Linked DNA regions of Homo sapiens: region 1 is linked to region 2. Evidence: promoter capture Hi-C in human tissues and cell types (Jung and others, 2019). All regions are on one chromosome and are shown on one strand. Each heading gives the region's core, a stretch centred on a gene start or on the middle of the fragment in contact. The rest is flanking DNA. Distances are from core to core; before and after follow the strand shown. Region 1 overlaps LOC105374534 (a long non-coding RNA gene). Region 2 holds the start of ANAPC4 (anaphase promoting complex subunit 4).

Region 1 (3,190 bases), core at 117-2,616, 270 kb after region 2:
GTGTAACAACCTCAGCCTTTTTTGCACTTGGTGCTAGTGAAAAGTTGAGGGAAAATCCAACCATGCCCACAGGACAGAAATACTTTTTTTTTTTTTAAACCAAAGAAAAGCCTTTTTACAAAATAGCAACTCATCAGGGAAAAGAAATGTCCGAACTAAATGAGAGCAGGCTGCACGTTGGACCTGCTGACATGAAGCCAGGGCAAGGTGCTTCCCCACTCTGGCCTGCGTTTCCTCCTCTGCATAAGGAGAATTTTGGATTTGGTCCTCTCCCGGGTCAGTCCACCTCTAACACTCTGTCATGCCAGGTGATAACCAAAATATCTAGATCCAGCATTCATGTCTGCAATGTTCTTGCTTTGCTAGCAAGGCCCCTGCCACCAAGAGGAGATCACACGTTTTCTAGATGTCCTTTTTTACCTCCCCACAGGGTCACTGGGGCTTCCCTGTAGGTGAGGTCCTTGGGCAAGTCTACCTCTCTACACCTCAGTTTCCTCATCTGTGAAATGGGGATAATAACAATGGTCTCAACAGCACGGGGTTGAGGGGAAAACGAAATAGGATGCTAGGTGCAAAGTGCATAGCATGGGACAAGAACTTTGCCAAAGTCAACGAAGAGCTCAGTGTTCTGCATTGGTGCCCGCCTCCATGCTCAGGTCCTCAAGAGACCCGTGACGGTCTTCCCTTGATCTTGGCTTTGGTGTTGGTGATGGCGGTAAGGAATCATCTAGTAGCCAAGTAGGACCTTTTATTCCTGAGGACTAATGAGACTGTGAACTTTGTGAATCCTCCACTCCTAGCAGCCAGAAGACTCAGCCCAGGCCAGAGGTCGTGGTCTGTGGGGCTCTGGTGGTCAGCAGAAGAGGCCAGGATAGAGCGAGACGGACAATGACCACGAGCACAGAAAGCTGCAGAGGAGCAGGATCCAGGTAGGAGCCAGAGTCTGTCCACTCAGCATGTGTGAACCTGGCCTAGATTTGCCCAAATCCAGCTCCCTGCTCTCCCCTTTCAGAAGCAGAAGCTTGTGACTTGGCACCTGTTTCCGGAACCCACTATGGCCCAACCTTCTCAGAAGATTTTGCACCTTGAGCCAAAGAGGATGCAGGGCTCTTGGGACCCAAGAGCCTGAGTAGGGCTTCTGCCCTCCCTCTCCGGCCTGAAGTTTCCCATTCATCAGCTGGAACCTTCACACCTGCCCAGAGGACTGCTGACTCGCACTGACGGTGGCCACAAGGTGACAGCTTGTGTCCTGTGGGGGTAGATGGTGATAACCATCTGGTAACCAAGCAGATGAAGTCCTGGGGTGATGAAATCTTAGGAAGTAAAGAAGATTGGTCTTGTCCTTAGCTATCCTCACTCCTTTGGAGCAAGCCCCCAAAGTCCCTGCCACAGCAGGCCCTGGGCATGGAAGGGATGACTGATGACAGTGTCATTGTCAAGGATGGGTATGCCAAGGATGGAAGAGTGGCTGCTTCTGCCTTGCACCATTCCCCTCTCCTGAGCCAGCCTCCTTCCTACCTTTTGACTCCCTCTCAGGCAGTAGTCACAGCCTTCTAGAGACAAAGCTGGCGCAAATCACAGGTCAGCTGGCCTGCAGGGCAGTGGGAACCCCCAGGGCGTGGGTGGAAAGGGCAGAGGCGGGCTGGACCATTTATCTATCTGTCTGAGAGTTACTGAGCACTGGCCAGAGACTGCTCATTTCTTCTCAATATTTCCTCCTGTCCCTTAGAATCCTGACTTTAACTGGGAATAATGCTGCCCTTCCCGGTGGGAATAACACTGCCCTTCCCAGTGGGATAAGCTTCCTAGCTGATGTAACCATGCATTAAGGTTAGGCCAATGAGATGTAAACTGAATTATTGTATAGAACTGCTAGAAATTTTCGCCAAAAAAAACTGGTATGCCTTTTTATGCCTCTTTGTGCCTTTTTGTTCCTGACACAGAATTCAGATGTGATGGCTGCAGCTTAAGCAGCCATCATGGACCATGAAGTAGACACACTAAACCTGCTGCAGGAGCAAGATGGAAGGAGTCTGGACCTCTGACAATGACAGTTTCACAAAACTTTTCCTGGGGTGTACGCCTCCAGACACCTCTTATTCCTGAGAGGCAGATAAACTGCTCCCTTTTAAAGCCACTGTTGTTTTGAGTTGATCTGTTACACATAGTCAAACCTGATCCAAACTCAAAAATAAAAGAAAAAGCAAAAAAACCTGATCCAAACTGATTCAAGTCCCTGCTGTGTGACAGACACTCTTCGAGGTTGTGGTGACCCAGCAGTGAGGATAGGATGGTCACCAGCACAGTGACCATAGTGCCTGCCCTGTACAGCCACATTCCAGTGGAGAGAAAGCTATATATGAGGAAACAGTAATTTTATGAAATAATTGGTGGCATGAAATAAAACAGGTGATATTGAGTGAGACACAGTTCTGAGACTGTCTCATTTATTAACTAATCTAATCTTCATATCAATTCTGTGAGGTGGTGACAATTATCATACCCATTTTACAGATGAAAAAGGAGGCCCAGTGGGTAGGTAACGCATAAGGACACATGCCAATGAGCAGAGGAAGCAGCATGTGACTCCCAACACTCAGCCTCCAGAGCTCACCCTCCTAGCAGCTTCCCCAACTGCTTCCATAGCAGGGTAGAGAGAGGAACCACTTCCCAGGAACTGTGGCCTGACCAGTGCTGGGCCCTCTAACTGACATCAGTAGTCTTTTTTTTCTTTTTTTTTTTTCTTTTTTTTTGCCCAGTCTGGAGTGCAATGACGCGATCTCAACTCACTGTAACCTCCACCTCCCAGGCTCAAGCGATTCTCCTACCTCAGCCTCCCAAGTAGCTGGGACTACAGGTGCGCGACACCACACCCGGCTAATTTTTGTATTTTCACTAGAGATGGGGTTTCACCATGTTGGCCAGGCTGGTCTCAAACTCCTGACCTCAAATGATCCGCCCACCTCGGCCTCCCAAAGTGCTGGGATTACAAGCGTGAGCCACCGTGCCTGGTCCTATCCAGTAGTCTTTATAACAACGCTATTCCCTTCAGGTGTGACCTTTCAACATGATGATCCTGGGGCGTGAGACTTAGTGGTGGCTGTCCCCAAGAGCACGCCTGGCAAGAGTACCAGCTGGAAACTGCATGAGCTTTCTGGGATGAGGCATGTGGCCTTTCTTCCATTGCCTT
Region 2 (3,391 bases), core at 192-2,691:
TTTTTCATACCTCTTCTTTCTCCTCAAACTTCCAATATATTCTTCTCCATCTTCACCCATAAACAATGCCCTTGCTTCTTCCTTCACTGAGAAAATGGATGTAACAGTGCCCTCTATCACGCCTACCCATCTGATTGCACGGATGTGCCTCCCGTCTACCTTCCCTCCTACTTCTGTGACGGTACCACCTGCTGCTCTCTAGAGCCACAACAGAGTTTCAAAGCATCCCGGCAGCGGAGGGAGACTAGCTAGATTTCATGGAGGGCCCTGAAAAATTAGACATCAATACCCTGGCGACTGGATCATGGTAGATAACATGGTGCAGACTACAGTCTGCAGGGTGCTAAGATTTCCTTATCACCTAGTTTCCAAATTTGGCTCTATACAACTCTCACATGGCCAGATAACTCTCAAGCCAGAGGCGGAAAGATGCACAGGTGAAGGTTTCCTTACAAAATGGCTGGCAGGTAATAACTCTCAGCAGAAAGTTGGGTACAACTGGTTTATACTCGATGAAGTTTTATGTGAACAAGAAATGCTGATAACACCCATGCACGTTCTGTCTGGAATCCAATGCATGCCTTCCTTGTCCAATTTAGAGGTATTTTTAGTGGAGGGTGGTTATCCAACCCGTACTATAAAACGTGGACAAGAGAAGCCAGGTTCTTAAATATATCCTGTGTGGCAGCTACATGCAGGCACATTTGCAGCTGAAGTTTGACAATAACTCTTCCTACTGCTATTAAAACTGTAAGCAAACTTAGGGCAGGGTCCCTGCATCTACCATTATGTCTAGCTCATGAGCAGCACATAGTGGGCTTTTTTAAAAAGTTCATTTAACTAATAAACCAATGAGTGAAGAAGACTTGGGGAAGCAGGATTGCGTGACGGTGTTAAGCTGTGTGAAAACTGTTACTTTAGCCATAAAAGTACCGAAAATAGCACAGACATCACCTTTCGCATATATACTTAAAGTTTACTGCCGTCCTGGGAGGCAGGGAAGGGGTAGCAGGTGGCCAGCCATGTCTGCAGAAGGGGAAACTGAGGCTCCGGCCGCCTGTGGCCCGAATGAACAGGCTCGGGCTCGGTGTTCTTGGGCCCCCCGGGAGCAGACCCAGCACAGGCGGGCTCCCGCCGGCTCACTCACCTCGCCAGCTGTGTTGGCCAAAGCAATGAGATCCCGCTTGGGCGACCAGACCAGGAAAATAATCTCCTGCGGGAGCTGCTTCTCTCCCACCACCCGGAAGGATGGGAAACAGGTCGGAAAACGCAACATGGGGACGGCCCTGCAACGACACCCCAGTCAGAGGCCGGCAGGAGCCCCCGGCTCTCCACGAGGAGCCCCGACCGCGCCTGTACCTGCAAGAGTCCCCACCGGCAGACTAACACGGCCCCAGTGGCCTCTCCCCTCCCTCTGCCGGCCGCGCGCCACAGCCTCCAGGCCGCCCCGCCCCGCCGCTGTCGCGCGCTCCAGGCACTTCCGGCGTCGGGACTGCCTCGCGAGAGGAGGAGGAGGGGCGGGGCGCGCACCGGTCTTGGGGGTGCTGAGAGCCAGAAGGGGCGGACAGGGACGGGGCGCGGTGGGCGGGGCAGGGAGGAGCGAGGGGCGGATCGAGGTGGGGGTAGGATGGGGCCCGTGGGCGGGGCAGGGAGCAGCGATGGGGCAGAGCTAGGAAGGGTGGGGCACGCGGGCGGGGCAGGGAGCCCCGAGGGGCGCGGAGAGGGAGGGAGCCGCGCGCCGGACCCAGGTGCTGGTGGGATCGCTGGGCGCCGGGACCTGAAAGGGCCCGAGAAGGGCGGGGCAGGCCCCTGCGGCCACACGCAGGTCTTTTGGGAACCCGTGTGTGCACGTGTGTGGGCATGCTTGCATACCTTTCCCGTTTTCCCGGAAATTCTCTGCTGTGGGCAAAGGGACGGTAGGGGTTTATGGGGTAGGCTTCAGCGACAACGGGGAGATGAAAAAGAATATGAACTTTAGGTCCTGATCAGCTGGCGCCTCCTCTAACAGTTACTAAGCGAGTAGTTCTCATGTCAGTCCTGGTGGGTCAGTATAGAATTTTAAAAGTCCCCCTGTCCAAGCAGCACCCCAAACCAATTAGAAGAAAATTAACCCTGGATGGGCCCAGTATTTACTAAAACTCTTTGGGTGATTCCAATTTGGAGAGAAGAGGCGCGTGCCCTAAAACCTCCCTAACAGGCAAATAATACTGTGACATCTCATCCCATTTAACCCTCACAACTTATTGGTAGTTGCAGCACCGTCATAACGAATAAAGAGTGTGGGCTCAGGGCCGGGCGCGGTGGCTCACGCCTGTAATCCCAGCACTTTGGGAGGCCGTGGCGGACGGATCACAAGGACAGGAGATAGAGCCCATCCTGGCTAACATGGTGAAACCCCGTCTCTACTAAAAAATACAAAAAAGTAGCCAGGCATGGTGGCGGGCACCTGTAGTCCCATCTACTGGGGAGGCTGAGGCAGGAGAATGGCGTGAACCCGGGAGGCGGAGCTTGCAGTGAGGCGGAGCTTGCAGTGAGGCGGGGCTTGCAGTGAGGCGGAGCTTGCAGTGAGCCGAGATTGTGCCACTGCACTCCAGCCTGGGCAACAGAGCCAGACTCCGTCTCTAAAATATAAAAAAAGAGTGTGGGCTCACACACGATTTCTTCTATAGGTACTTGGGCATTTACTATGTGGAGGAACTGAGGCTACAGCAATGCATGGGACGGGAACTCTGCCCAGAGGCTCACAGGCCAGCCTGGCAGACTTGTAAATCAGAACTCATCTGATGTTGCTTTATGTAGGACACATTTAAATGAGTCAACCTGTTGACAGTTCCCACAGCTATGACCTCCCTAAGAGAATGTGACAGTACCATCCTAGGGTTCTTAAACTTAAAACCTATGGTAGAAAGCCATCTACTTTTTACTACCTTTCACTTGTTCAAAGAAGAAACAGACGGCAGGTCCTTTAACTTTCAACAGGCCCCATCTTCTTGACCTCTGTCTGGATCTAGCCCCTGGGAAGTAGATGACGGAGGGAGACTAATTCATTCAGCATCAAGTAACTATTTTGTGCCAAGTACTGTTCTTAATCCTTGACTTTATACCTACCCTGCTTCCTGTCACGGGCTTTGCAGCCCTTGCCTTTGCCACAAACAACTTACCAAGTGCCCCCAACTCTTCCAGAATCAACATTTCTAAGGTAAAAATGCATTTGCCTTTGTTTTTCACAAAATGCATTTTCAGGTGTTAGTGTTTTGGGGCAGTTATAATGGATCACCTGGTGGGGGTCTAGTATCTATGCACATTAACCTTCTTACGGAAATTGAATGTCCATTTTCCTGGAACTTACCTGAATACAAACACCCATACAGCACGTGAAAATCACTGTTCC

The links. Contacts are between HindIII fragments. The study calls those that stand out against the background at their distance.
Region 1: a fragment that was not itself captured here is called in contact with the fragment with the promoter of ANAPC4 in region 2 in 1 of the 25 tissues and cell types used here (H1 embryonic stem cells).

What each region holds. Positions count from the first base shown.
Region 1 is chr4:25,109,152-25,112,341 of GRCh38, reverse strand. It overlaps LOC105374534 (a long non-coding RNA gene), which reads left to right. Exons shown (of 4, transcript XR_925488.2): 1 at 1-929; 2 at 1,013-1,234; 3 at 3,053-3,190. Among named protein-coding and RNA genes, the nearest start is that of SEPSECS, 50 kb to the left of the region's middle. The HindIII fragment of the contact is 5,012 bases long and covers 1-3,190 here.
Region 2 is chr4:25,375,313-25,378,703 of GRCh38, reverse strand. It overlaps ANAPC4 (anaphase promoting complex subunit 4), which reads right to left and starts at 1,441. Exons shown (of 29, transcript NM_013367.3): 1 at 1,360-1,441; 2 at 1,148-1,286. The coding sequence starts at 1,276. RefSeq lists enhancers at 1,039-1,108, 1,139-1,198 and a silencer at 1,319-1,738. The HindIII fragment of the contact is 8,136 bases long and covers 1-3,391 here.